Linked DNA regions of Homo sapiens: region 2 is linked to region 1. The links are contacts of gene promoters, found by promoter capture Hi-C in human tissues and cell types (Jung and others, 2019). All regions are on one chromosome and are shown on one strand. The core of a region is centred on a gene start or on the middle of the fragment in contact, and the rest is flanking DNA. Distances in the headings are between cores, read along the strand shown. Region 1 holds the start of VPS37D (VPS37D subunit of ESCRT-I). Region 2 holds the start of LAT2 (linker for activation of T cells family member 2).

What was found. The method cuts DNA at HindIII sites, captures the fragments that hold promoters and counts their contacts. A contact is called where the count stands out against the background at its distance.
Region 2: a contact is called between the fragment with the promoter of LAT2 here and the fragment with the promoter of VPS37D in region 1, in 1 of the 25 tissues and cell types used here (dorsolateral prefrontal cortex).

Annotation. Positions count from the first base shown.
Region 1 is chr7:73,664,849-73,671,497 of GRCh38, reverse strand. VPS37D (VPS37D subunit of ESCRT-I) reads right to left here and starts at 3,667. Exons shown (of 4, transcript NM_001077621.2): 1 at 3,402-3,667; 2 at 1,908-2,079; 3 at 1,396-1,478; 4 at 1-484. The coding sequence starts at 3,539. The coding sequence ends at 122. RefSeq lists an enhancer at 2,510-3,505 and silencers at 3,487-3,786, 3,897-3,996, 4,007-4,056. The HindIII fragment of the contact is 19,506 bases long and covers 1-6,649 here.
Region 2 is chr7:74,207,668-74,214,316 of GRCh38, reverse strand. LAT2 (linker for activation of T cells family member 2) reads right to left here and starts at 4,311. Exons shown (of 14, transcript NM_032464.3): 1 at 4,229-4,311. RefSeq lists enhancers at 1,238-1,297, 1,428-1,507, 3,378-3,497, 4,718-4,827 and silencers at 3,188-3,277, 4,388-4,437. The HindIII fragment of the contact is 33,709 bases long and covers 1-6,649 here.

The DNA.
Region 1 (6,649 bases), core at 2,418-4,917:
GGGCCTGCCTGAGGCCAGGGGGAGGGGCCTGCCCCTCCCCCCACCCAGGCAGTGGGGGAGGAGGAGGAGCCACGCATCAAGTTTGTCTAGGCCCCCCAACTGGGGGGCCGCACCGTGGATCCTACCGGTGGGGGGGCTCTGGCTGCGAGGGCCGAGGGCTCAGCAGGGGGGCCGGGCCGAGGGGGCACCCGGGGGAGCCCTTCAGTGGGGGCACTGGGCGGGAGTCCAAGGGGGGCAGGCTCCGGGGCACTGCTGGTGGCCCCCGGGCGGCCCCAGTGGGCAGGACAGCTGCAGCCGGGAAGGATTTGGGGGGATCAGCAGCCGAGGTGGGGGCCGGCTGGGCAGAACGCTCCCGACGCCGCAGCAGCTCCTGCAGCTTCTCTGCCTGCGTCCGCCTCAGGTGGGCCAGGGCGCGGCCACGCTGGAAGGCAGGCAGGAAGGCCTCCAGGCTTTGCTCCCCGAGCAGCAGCTGCTCCATCTGCTCCTGGGCCGGGAGGGAAGGGAAGGCTTGGGAGAGGCACGACCACAGACTGGGGACTGGTCCTCACTCCTTCCCACCCTGAGGCCCTCCCCATGGTGATCACCCCTCAGCTGGGGGACAGGGGACCTGCGTTCCAGCCTGGGCCTGCCTCCGATTACTTGCTAAGTGAACTGTGGACAAATGTCCTCCCACTTTTTTTTTTTTTTCCTGAGACAGAGTCTCACTGTGGTCCAGGCTGGAGTGCAGTGGCGCAATCTCGGCTCACTGCAACCTCCACCTCCCGGGTTCAAGCAATTCTCCTGCCTCAGCCTCCCAAGTAGCTGAGATGACAGACATGCACCACCACGCCCGGCTAATTTTTTTTTGTATTTTGTAGAGACGGGGTTTCACCATGTTGGTCAGGCTGGTCTCGAACTCCTGACCTCAGGCGATCCGCCCGCCTCGGTCTCCCAAAGTGCTGGGATTACAGGCGTGAGCCACTGTGCCCAGCCCTAACTTCTAAAATAAGGATGCCATCACCAGACCTGCTGGATCAGAGATGAGGCAGGAGCAGAGGCAGGGACATATGTGAAGTATAGACTTAACATGTCCTTCGGGAGCCCACCACCTTCAGCTCACTGATCGCTGCACTCCCAACCCAGCACAAAGTCTGCCCCAGCTCCTCTGTAGCCCCAGATCCACGCTGCCCTAGCCCAGTCACAGGGGAGCCCGAAAAAAATTCACAGGTAGGAAAGTGAGCCCTGCTGGCTGTCCAGTGCTGGTGGACAGCAATGCTAGGCTCTGGCATGCGCCAGGCATTCAGGGTGGACTTCCCAGAGGAGGGGCTCCCCAGCCTGAGGTGTAAGAATGAGCCAGGGGGTGGCAGAGAATGGGTCTCCCTCCTGGCCCCCAGCCCCAGCCACCCCTCCCCTCACCTCTGCCTCCTGCTCCGCCTCTTCTAGCTCAGCCTGCAGCCAGCCCAGCGCGCAGTGGGGACTCCAGCGATGCATGCTTTCCTCTGAGGGCCACAGAGGGACAGAGTGACAGACAGGCCAGGGCCCCGGGCTTGCACTCTCCCGCTGACCCCATGTGATTCTATATTTCCCTTTCCCCTGGTCTAGAGCCTCAGTTTCCTCATCTGTACCGTGCCCATGTGACCGCTTTGTGGATCCGGCCCCTACCAAGTTTCTGCTCCTCGTCCTAGTACAAAAGAGACAGGGGAGGCTTTGTCCCCCTCAGCATCTCAGGGGGACCCTGCGTATTGGGTCCCCTTTCTCCCACCCAACCCTCCCCACTTCCTCTCACTTCCTCAACTCTACTGCCCAGCAAGCCAGGAGCAGGTCCGCCCAACTCCCATCCATCAGAGCCTGGCACTTCCCAAGGCCAACCCACCGGATGGCCAACTGCCCCCACCAGCCCCAGGGGGTTCTCCCAGACGTGCCCTCACCCAGTCGCTGCAGCTTGTCCGCGCAGTTCTCGGCCACCTCACGAAGCTCCTGGTATTTGATGGCCAGGGCAGCCCGGCCCATCTCCAGGCGGGGCCGCAGGGCCAGGTTCTCCTTGGCCAGCGCGTAGTTGGAGGCCAGGCAGGCCTCACGCTCCAGCTGCAGGCCCTGGAACTGCGGGCAGAGAGGAGCTAAGAGGCCCGCTCAGGGGATCTGCCCTGTCCACCCTACTGCCCCGTCCACCCTACTGGGCGACCGTGCCTGAGGGCCAGGCCAAAGGCACCTGTCAGGCACCCCTTCAGGGTGGTGAACCCAACAGGTGAAGGGACGATGACAGGCCGGGACCAGAACTGGCTCTGCCCTGAGCTCCCTCTCTGGCCTCAGTTTCCTCTTTTACAAATCGAGTTAAAAAACATCCACCTTATGGGGTTGTTGAGAGACTTAAGTGAGGAAAACTATAAAGGCCTCTACAAATGTTAGTTAATTTTTAATTTTTCAATTAATATGTCTGCTCAGGTCCCGGAGGAGTGCCCCTCCCTCCTCTGCCCCATTTTCCATGCATGGACAGCTTCCCTCTCACTCCAGGCCTTTGTCTGTTTCCTCCTCAGGTGTTTGCACCGAAAACACTCCCACCCCCTGCTCATCCTCTCCAGAGGGGTGTCTGCACCCCGTCCCCTCACAGCACCCCCTCGGGTCACCCTCTCTTCCCTTCCCACCCCTTCCTCTGCCTCCAGTGGAATCCTCACACCCCAAGGAATACACACCCCCTTTTCCTCCCTGCTCCGGGCTTACAGCAGCCCCGGCCCTGGAGAAGGCTTTTTCCTTGTCTCTAGCAGGGCCCAACCTCCCCTCCCTGCCCCTGGAGAACGCACTCCCCTCCATCTGTCCCTTGTGGGATGCACAAGCCCCTCCTCGCCTGCCTGCTTTCAACACACACTTGCCCTTTCTGCCCCCCACAGACAACCAGCCCGGGCCTATCTCCCGTGAAATATACAACTTTCTCTTACGGTGGCCTATGCAATACACACGGCAGCTTCCAGCACCCCTCCCCAACGCCAGGCACAAAGCCCCCTCTTGCGCCCCCAGAATGCGTGAACCCCCAACGGCCCCTCCAGGTGTCAGACAGGCCCCTAGTTCTCCCAGTGGAAGGCGCCTCCTCTTTCTGGCCCTTACAGAACGTGGGTGTGCGAGCCAGGGCCCCCCACAACACAGCCCCCCGGAACACACCTCCCCGGAGCATCCGCTGTAGGACACGCCTCGCGGCCATCCTGGGGGTGCACAGGCGCCCCCCTCGGGTCCCCGGCGCCCCACCCGCCCCAGGCCAGCTCCAAGCGCCCCCTCCCCCGGGGGTGGCTCCGCGGGGCCCACTCGTACGTGCCAGGCTCCGCGCCCACGGGCGGCCCCGCGGCCCGGCCCGCGCGGCCCTTCCCTCGAGCGGCAGGTCCCGCAGGCCGCTGCCCGTCCCCCGCGCCCCCCGCTCGAGCCCCCCGCGCTACCTTCCTGCTGAGCCGCACGATCCGGTCCAGCTTGGGCTCATCCTGAAGCAGGTCCCGGAGCTGCCCGGTGCTGAGGATCCCAAAGCGCCCCGGGCTGCCGGGCTCCGGCCCCGCCCGCGCCGCCCGGGCCCGGTACATGCCGCCCGCCCGCGCCCCCAGCTCGGCTGCTGGCTCGGCCCGCTCGGCCCGCTCCGCCCCGGCTCCGCTCCGCTCCGCTCCGCTCCGGCTCCAGGATCCGCTCCGGCTCCGGCCGCACGCACCGCTCCGCCGCCAGGGGGCGCCCCTCCCGCTCTTAAAGGAGCCGCGGCGCCGGGGCTGGGGGTGGGGCAGGGAGGAGGCGGGCCGCACCCCTCCCCGCCCCGGCCGCGCCGCGCCGCCTCCAGCACCCCAGGATCGCCCAGCAACCCGATCTCCCCGCCCCTCCCGGAATCTGAGCCGCCCTGCTCTGCGCCCCAGCACCGGCCCTGGCTCACCACGCCCCCAGGCACGGACTCTCCCACCCCGGGCGGTTACAATTTGCAGAGCCCGTGCACGTTTTCCCCTCGGATGGCAACAACAAATTTCTGACTTTGGCCGGGCGCCGAGGGCTCCTGCCTTGCAGCCCTCCCCAAGCCTCAGTTTTCTCTTCTGTAAAATGGGGTTGGAGATGGTGAGCGCTGACTTGCTGGCCGGGCGCGGTGGCTCTCTCCTGTAATTCCAGCGATTTGGGAGACCGAGAAGGGAGGATCGCTTGAGGCCAGGAGTTTGAGACCAGCCTGGGCAACATAACAAGACCCCCGTCTCTATTTAAAAAAATTTAAAAATTGTCAAAAGGGTGAAAAGAGGCCGGGCGCGGTGGCTCACGCCTGTAATCCCAGCACTTTGGGAGGCCGAGGCGGGCGGATCACGAGGTCAGGAGATCGAGACCATCCTGGCTAACATGGTGAAACCCCGTCTCTACTAAAAATACAAAAAAAATTAGCCGGGCGTGGTGGCGGGCGCCTGTAGTCCCAGCTACTCGCGAGGCTGAGGCAGGAGAATGGCGTGAACCCGGGAGGCGGAGCTTGCAGTGAGCGGAGATCGCGCCACTGCACTCCAGGCTGGGTGACAGAGCGAGACTCCGTCTCAAAAAAAAAAAAAAAAAGAGTGAAAAGAACAATTTTTAAAAGTATTTAAATGCTTTTAAAAAGTATCCGGACATGGTGGCATGCGTCTGTAGTCCTAGCTACTCAGGAGGCAGAGGTGGGAGATTGCTTGAGCTCAGTTTTGAGACCAGCCTGGGCAACACAGCAAGACCCCATCTCTATAAAAGTAAAATTAAAATGCTGAGGGATAGTGATATGGCTAGCAATGTTATAATGAATACACATAGTAGGTCAATACCCACTTGTTATTTTAGACATGCAGAAGCATCACAGAGGCCGGGCACGGTAGCCCATGCCTGTAATCCCAGCACTTTGGGAGTCCAAGGTGGGTGAATCATTTGAGGTCAGAAGTTTGAGACCAACCTGACCAACAAAAATTAGCCGGGCGTGGTGGTGGGCGCCTGTAATTCCAGCTACTCAGGTGGCTGAGGCAGGAGAATCGCTTGAACCTGGGAGGCGGAGGTTGTAGTGAGCCGAGATAGCACCACTCCACTCCAGCCTGGGCGACAGAGACTCCGTGCTCCGTCTCAAACAAAGAAAAAAAAGAAAAAAAAGAGATGATGTCGCCTCCCCAAAGTCACATTACAGGTAAATGATACAGTCCCGTTTCTTCTCATTTGTACAGTGTCCACAGAGCATACGATGCCGCTCTGCGCTGAACACTGGGTTAGGCCCTGTGGGGACACTGTCCCTGCCCTCAGGGAGTTCATGGATTAAGGCAGAGTCCCATTCCCACTCAACTAATTCTAGTATAAGACAAATGGCAGGTGTCACCTCATGATGGCTTTGTGATTCCCATGTGATCCCCGATATGTCCTGTACCTTGTCTTTACAAATAGGTTAAGCCATTGTCCCCATCTCAGGAAATAGACACTCAGAAATTAAGTCAGACAATGAGTGACCCAGCCTGGGCAACACAATGAGACCCCCATCTCTGCCAAACATAAAAAATAAAGTAGCCGGCCGTGGTGGTTCGTGCCTGTAGCCCCAGCTGCTCAGGAGGCTGAGGTGGGAGGATCACTTGAGCCCAGGAGGTTGAGGCTGCAGTGACCTATGATTTTGCCACTGTACTCCAGCCTGGGAAATGGAGCAAGACCCCGTCTCAAAAAACAACAACGACAACTGAGCTTGTTCCACCTTAATACACTGCTACAAAAGTACAAAGAGCAATTAGGAAGGCTTACCAGAGGAGGTGGCATTTGAGCTGGGTTTCAGAGGTTGAATAGGAGTTCTCAAGTTGAAGGAGAAAATGATGAAAGCAAACAGAAATCCATAAGCCAAGGCATAGGGGCGGGAAGAGCTGAGCAAGGACTCTCCCTATCCAGCCATAGCATGGTGGGCAGGCATGGTGCCAATGTCTGGGAGAAGCGGCAGGACAGCCTTGTTGACAGACCATAAAAGTAACACTTCTACTTTTTTTTAAAAACAGTTCTACATTTTTACAACAACTAAAATTGGCTTTCCCCTTCAAGACTCATCTGGAATATCACCACCTCCAGGAAGCCCTCTCCACCTTCCCAGGCTAGGGGGTTATTCCCTTTTCCTCTGGACTCACACAGTCCCTTCACTTTCTTTTTAGACAGAGTCTCCCTCTGTCGCCCAGGCTGGAGTCAGTGGTGTGATCTCAGGTCACTGCAATCTTTGCCACCCAGGTTCAAACAGTTCTCCTGCCTAAGCCTCCGGAGTAGCTGGGATCACAGTAATTTTTTTTTTTTTTTTTTTTTTTTTTTTTTTTTTTGAGACAGAGTCTCACTCTGTTACCCAGGTCAGAGTGCAGTGACGCGATCTCAGCTCACTACAAGCTCCGCCTCCCGGGTTCACACCGTTCTCCTGCCTCAGCCTCCTGAGTAGCTGGGACTACAGGCGCCCGCCCCCAAGCCCGGCTAATTTTTTGTATTTTTAATAGAGACAGGGTTTCACCGTGTTAGCCAGGATAGTCTCAATCTCCTAACCTCGTGATCCGCCCACCTCGGCCTCCCAAAGTGCTGGGATTACAGGCATGAGCCACCGCGTGCAGCCTTCTTTTGTGTGTTTTTAGTAGAGATGGGGTTTTCACCATGATGGCCAGGTTGGTCTTGAACTCCTGACCTCAAGTGATCCACCCGCCTCGGCGTCCCAAAGTGT
Region 2 (6,649 bases), core at 3,062-5,561, 540 kb before region 1:
TATATATATTTATATATATATTTTCATATATATATTTATATATATATTTTCATATATATATATTTATATATATATTTTCATATATATTTTCATATATATATTTTCATATATATTTTCATATATATATTTATATATATTTTCATATATATATTTTCATATATATATTTATATATATTTTCATATATATATTTATATATATATTTTCATATATATATTTATATATATTTTTTCATATATATATATTTATATATATTTTTTCATATATATATATATATACATATATATGGCTGCAGTGAGCTGTGATCATGCTACTGCACTCCAGCCTGGGCAACAGAGTGAGACTCCGTTTCAAAAAATAATAATAAGGAGACCTGGCCCCCTGGAGATGGCTGGGGACAGAGTTGAGGGTGGTGGGGTCTCTGAAGGGGTTGAGTATGGTGGGCATTTGTGGAGCCAACACTCCCGAGTGTCCACTCTCCCCCACCCGCCGTGTTCTTCCCACCCTGGCCACCAGTGAGGAGGGCTTCTCCCCATCCCACAGCTGGGGAAGGTGAGGCTTGGAGCAGTAAACAGGACTTAAAAGGGAGGAGCTCCAGCAGGGCGTGGTGGCTCACGCCTGTAATCCCAGCACTTTGGGAGGCCAAGGCGGGCAGATCACGAGGTCGGGAGTTCGAGACTAGCCTGACCAACATGGTGAAACCCCATCTCTACTAAAAATACAAAAATTAGCCGGGTGTGGTGGCACACGCCTGTGATCCCAGCTAATCAGGAGTCTGAGGCAAGAGAATCACTTGAACCTAGGAGGTGGAGGTTGCAGTGGGCCGAGATCATGCCACTGCACTCCAGCCTGGGCAACAGAGCGAGACTCCATCTCAAAAAAAAAAAAAAAAAAAAATGGCCGGGCACAGTGGCTCATGCCTGTAATCCCAACACTTTGGGAGGCTGAGGCGGGTGGTTCATGAGGTCAGGAGTTCAAGACCAGCCTGGCCAAGATGGTGAAACCCTGTGTCTACTAAAAAAGAATACAAAAAATTAGCCAGGTGTGGTGGTGGGCGCCTGTAATCCCAGCTACTCAGGAGGCTGAGGCAGAGAATTGCTTGAACCAAGGAGGTGGAGGTTGCAGTGAGCTGAGATCACGCCACTGCACTCCATCCAGCCTGGGCAACAAGAGCGAAACTCTATCTCAATAATAATAATAATAATAATGGAGGAGCTCCAGGCTGCCTACCTCCTGCCTTGGGATCCCCCTGAGGTCCACCAGGACCTGGGCTGTCCCCCTTGAAAGCTGTGTGGCTTTGGACAAGTCTCAGGACCTCTCTGGACTTCCCAAATCCCTGCGGTAAGATGACAGGGAATCTCCATGCGGCCCTGAGCCTCTGTAAGAGGCGCATCACAGAGAAGCCACCAGGCCTCTCCCCAAAAGCCAAGTGAGTCAGTGGGAACAAGTGAATTTCTGAGCCGTGTGACTGGCACGACCCACGTCACCCCGGGAGGTTGTCCGAGGAAAGCTCTGCTCTCTCTTCCCCATGGCCCGCCTGGGCACTGCCCTTCTCCCTCCTCGAAACTCTCCTTGCCTCAGTGCCCCCAACCCGGGGTGTACCCCCAACCCCTCCAGCATGGCCCAAGTTCATCTCAGGCTTGTGAGGTTGGAGCAACTTGTCTTGCAGGAGGGCTCATGGGACCAAATCTAGCCTCTGCCTGAGAGCCCCCCGCCTCAGTTTTCTCATCTATAAAATGAGGTCGGGCTGGGTACAGGGACTCACACCTGTAATCCCAATACTTTGGGAGGCTGAGACAGGAGGATCACTTGAGTTTGAGACCAGCTTGGCCAACATGGTGAAACCCTGTTTCTACTAGAAATACAAAAATTAGCCAGGCGTGGAGGTGCAAGCCTGTAATTCCAGCTACTTGGGAGGCTGAGGCATGAGAATCACTTGAACTCAGGAGGCAGTGAGTTGCAGTGAGCTGAGATCACGCCAGTGCACTCCAGCATGGGAGACAGAGTGAGACTCCATCTCAAAATAATAATAATAATAATAATAAATTAAATAAATGAATAAATAAAATGGGATCAGGCTGGGCGTGGTGGCTGACGCCTGTAATCTCAACACTGGGAGGCCGAGACAGGAGGATCGCTTGAGGCCAGGAGTTCGAGACCAGCATGGACGATGTAACAAGGCCCTGTCTCTACAAAAAAATGAAAAAATTAGGCAGGCGCAGTGGCACATGCCTGTGGTTCCAGCTACTTGGGACACTGAGGCAAGAGAATTGCTTGAGCCCAGGAGTTGGAAGCTGCAGTGAGCCAAGATCACACCACTGAACTCCAGCCTGGGTGACAGAGCAAGACCCCATCTCTAAAAACAAAAAATGAAATTTAACAAACAGTCATGTGTCTGCCCCCAGACTGAATACATCCTGCGCTGTTGGCCGGGTGCGGTAGTTCACACCTGTAATCCCAACACTTTGGGAGGCTGAGGCGGGCAAATCATCTGAGGTCAGGAGTTCAAGACCAGCCTGGCCAACATGGTGAAACCCTGTCTCTACTAAAAATAAAAAATTAGGCCAGGCACGGTGGCTCACACCTGTAATCCCAGCACTTTGGGAGGCCGAGGCAGGCAGATCACAAAGTCAGGAGATTGAGACCATCCTGGCTAACATGGCGAAACCCCGTCTCTACTAAAAATACAAAAAATTAGCCGGTCGTGGTGGCAGGCGCCTCTAGTCTCAGCTACTCGGGAGGCTGAGGCAGGAGAATGGCATGTACCCGGGAGGTGGAGCTTGCAGTGAGCCAAGATTGCACCACTGCACTCCCAGCCTGGGAGACAGAGCAAGACTGTCTCCAAAAAATAAAAAATAAATAAAAAATAAAAAATTAGCCAGGTGTGGTAGCACGTGCCTGTAGTCCCCAGCTACTTGGAAGGGTAAGGCAGGAGAACTGCTTGAACCTGGGAGGTGGAGGTTGCAGTGAGCCGAGATCACGCCACTGCACTCCAGCCTGGACAACAGAGTGAGACTCCGTTTAAAAAAATTCTGTGCTCTCTCTCTGTCTCTGTCTCCCTTTGTGTCTCTGTCTCGCTCTCACTTTCACTCTCCCATCCAGGTTCTGAAAGCAGGTGGGCTGAGGTGGAGGGAGCGGAGGGTGGACCCTCTGAGGCCCCCAGGGGCCGGCAGGGCTGGGCGGGGTGGGGAGTGGGGGCTGCCACAGACCACGGTTCTGCAGAGGCCAAAATAGCACTAAAGGGAAGTGGGCAGTTTTCATATGAACAACGATTGCCAAGAGCTGGCTTCGGGGAAGTTCTCGGGGCTGGGCTGGAGGAGCTACAGTGTCTGAATCCCGCCTGGAAGGACGCTCGAGACCACCCTGCCGGTTCTCCCAGCCTTCTCCGAGCTGAGCTGTGGTTGGGGACACTGGGGTTGGGGAGGGGGCAGCCTGGCTTGAAGCCCTGGATGGCTTTATCCACTGGACTCTGCTCTGGGGTCTGTTGGTTTTTTCATTTAGTTTTTAATTATATTTTTTTATTTTTATTTTTTAAAGAGATGGGAGTCTCACTATGTTGCTCAGGCTGGTCTCCAGCTCCTGACTTCAAATGATCCTCCCGCCTTGGCCTCCCCAAATGCTGGGATTACAGGTTGAGCCACCGTGCCCGGCTGGTCCTGTTGCTTTTTCCAAATAACTCTGGGCTTCAAATGAGCCTAGCTGGGAGGGAGAGAGGGAGGCGGGCGGGTGCAGGAGGGGCCTGAGCAGCCCTGGTCCCAGGGACAGAGTTGAGGGCCAGGTAGGGGGCTGGGCAGGGAGGCAGTGGGGGTTCTTCACCTGACCTGGGGCAAGACCTGGGCCCTGGCCTGTAATCCCACCGTTTTCCCCTGACCTGTGTAGGGGGTTACAGTCCCATTTCACGGATGAGGAAACCGAGGCTCCCAGGCCAGGGCAGCCACTGTTTTGGCTCTCGGCCACTTACTTCACCAGTCTCTGGCAATGATGGGACCACCCTGGGATGTCCCAAGGCTACACAGGCTGGACAGGGGAAGGCGAGGGCAAGAGAGTGGCCAGAAGCCCAGAAACAAACTGACCCCTGAAGTGCCACAGAGCCTGGTGCCAGGGTGAGAGTGGGGCTGCGGGAGGGGGCGCCAGGCATCCAGGCCTCTTCCCACCCCACCCAGTGGGGCCAGGAGCTCCTGGGGGATGGGGGACAGCCTGAGGACTGAGGCACCCCTGGGAAAGGCTTACCTGAGAGTCCAGGGTTCCTCACCACGGCCGCCCCATCCTGAGCCCGCACACCTGCCCAAGCTGATGCCAACACCACTGACACTGGCGGGCGGGCAGGGCGGGCTTCCTGCCAGCCACTGAATCATCCGTACATCCGCCGCACTGCCGGACAGGCTCAGCTATGAAGAGGGCGGTGGGGGGAAGGGAGGGGAGACGGGGGAAGGAGGCGGGAGAGAGAGAGAGAAGAGAAACAAAGTGAGAGGGAGAAAGAGAAGAAAGAGAGATAGGACCGGGCGAGGTGGCTCACACCTGTAATCCAAAAACTTTGGGAGGCCGAGGCGGGTGGATCACGTAAGGTCAAGAGTTTAAGACCAGCCTGGCCAACATGGTGAAACCCCGTCTCTATTAAAAATACAAAATTAGCTGGGCATGGTGGCATGTGTCTGTAATTCCAGCTACTCGGGAGGCTGAGGCAGGAGAATCGTTTGAACCTCAGAAGCAGAGGTTGCAGTGAGCCGAGATCGCACCACTGCACTCCAGCCTGGGTGACAGAGGGAGACTCCGTCTCAAAAAACAGAAAGAAAAAGAGAGAGACACAGCAGAGAGACACAAGAGAACAGGAAAATATGGACACACACTAAACACACACATAAACACAAAAAGTCACACAGAGAGGAAGAGAGATACACTCCAATAGACAGGGAGCAAGATAATGAAACTGAGGTGCTCCTGCAGATGGCAGATATGGAGACACACATACGCTAAAAAGACACACACAGGCAGAAATTCACACCCATGGGCCGGGCGCGGTGGCTCATGCCTGTAATCCCAGCACTTTGGGAGGCCAAGGCAGGCAGGTCATGAAGTCAGGGGTTCAAAACCAGCCTGACCAACATGGTGAAACCCCATATCTACCAAAAATACAAAAATTATCTGGGTGTGGTGGCGGGTGCCTGTAATCCCAGCTACTCGGGAGGCTGAGGCAGGAGAATTGCTTGAACCCAGGAGGTGGAGGTTGCAGTGAGCCAAGATAGCGCCACTGCACTCCAGCCTGGGTGACAGAGCAAGACTTCATCTCAAAAAAAAAAAAAAAAAGAAGAAGACACACACAGGCAGAAATTCATACCCATGGGCCAGGCACGGTGGCTCATGCCTGTAATCCCAACACTTTGGGAGGCTGAAGCAGGAGAATCACCTGAGGTCTGGAGTTCAAGACCAGCCTGGCCAACATGGTGAAACCCCATCTCTACAAAAAATTTAAAAATTAGCTGGGCATGAGATGGACCAAGACACACACAGAGAGACACACAGAAAGATACAGAGAGCCACAGACTGTCAGAGACACACACAGATGGGGAGAGAGCAAGAAACAGGGAGATAGAGGCCAGGTGCAGTGGCTTGCACCTGCAATCCTAACATTTTTGGAGGCTGAGGCAGGAGGATCGCTTGAGAACAGGAATTTGAGACCAGCCTGGACAACAGAACGAGACCCCATCTCTAAAAAAATTTTTTTAATTAGCTGGGTGTGGTGGCACACACCTGTAGTCCCAGTGTTTTGGGAGGCCAAAACGGGAGGATTTCTTGAGCCCAAGAGTTGGAGGCTGCAGTGAGCCGTGACTCTGCCACTGCACTCCAGCCTGGGGGACAGCAAGACCCTGTCTGTCTGTAAAAACAATAAATAGGCCGGGCGTGGTGGCTCACATCTGTAATCCCAGCACTTTGGGAGGCCAAGGCAGGTGGATCACCTTATTTAGGTCGGGAGTTTGAGACCAGCCTGGCCAAAATGGTGAAACCCCATCTCTACTAAAAATACAAAAATTTGCCGGGTGTGATGGTGGGTGCCTGTAATCCCAGCTACTTGGGAGGCTGAGGCAGGAGAATCACTTGAGCCCAGAAGGCGGAGTTTGCAGTGAGCCAAGATCGTGCCACTGCACTACAGCCTGGACAACAGAGCGAGACTCCATCTCAAAAAAACAAAACAAAAACAAAAAAACCCAAAAAACACAACAAAAAAATTTAAAATAATAATAATTATTATTTAATTAATAGCTCAATGGCCTTGGGCAGCTGTTTAATGGTCAATAGCACAAGGCAGTCCACCCACTTGTGGGATGTGGCTTTATTGACCTCAGGTGCCAGAGCATCCTGGCCTCCACAGGGAACTATCTCACTCGGTCCTCATGTCTGTGTGGATGGCAGCCACGGTGTCCACCCCAGGGCTGGGCACAGGAGCACCGCTGGGCAGGAGTGGGCTGTGGTCCCTCTGCCTGTGCTATGAGCCGTTCTCTGCACCCCGATGCCAGGAGCCTCATCTGTGCAGTGGGGTGATGAGACCCCCAAGGCTGGGGTGGAGCAGGGCTCTCCTTCCTTCTCCCACCCTTTAGCGCCCTCGCTGTCTGCAGCCTCTGACACTCGTGCCGTCCACTCCTCCACCTGTCTTTG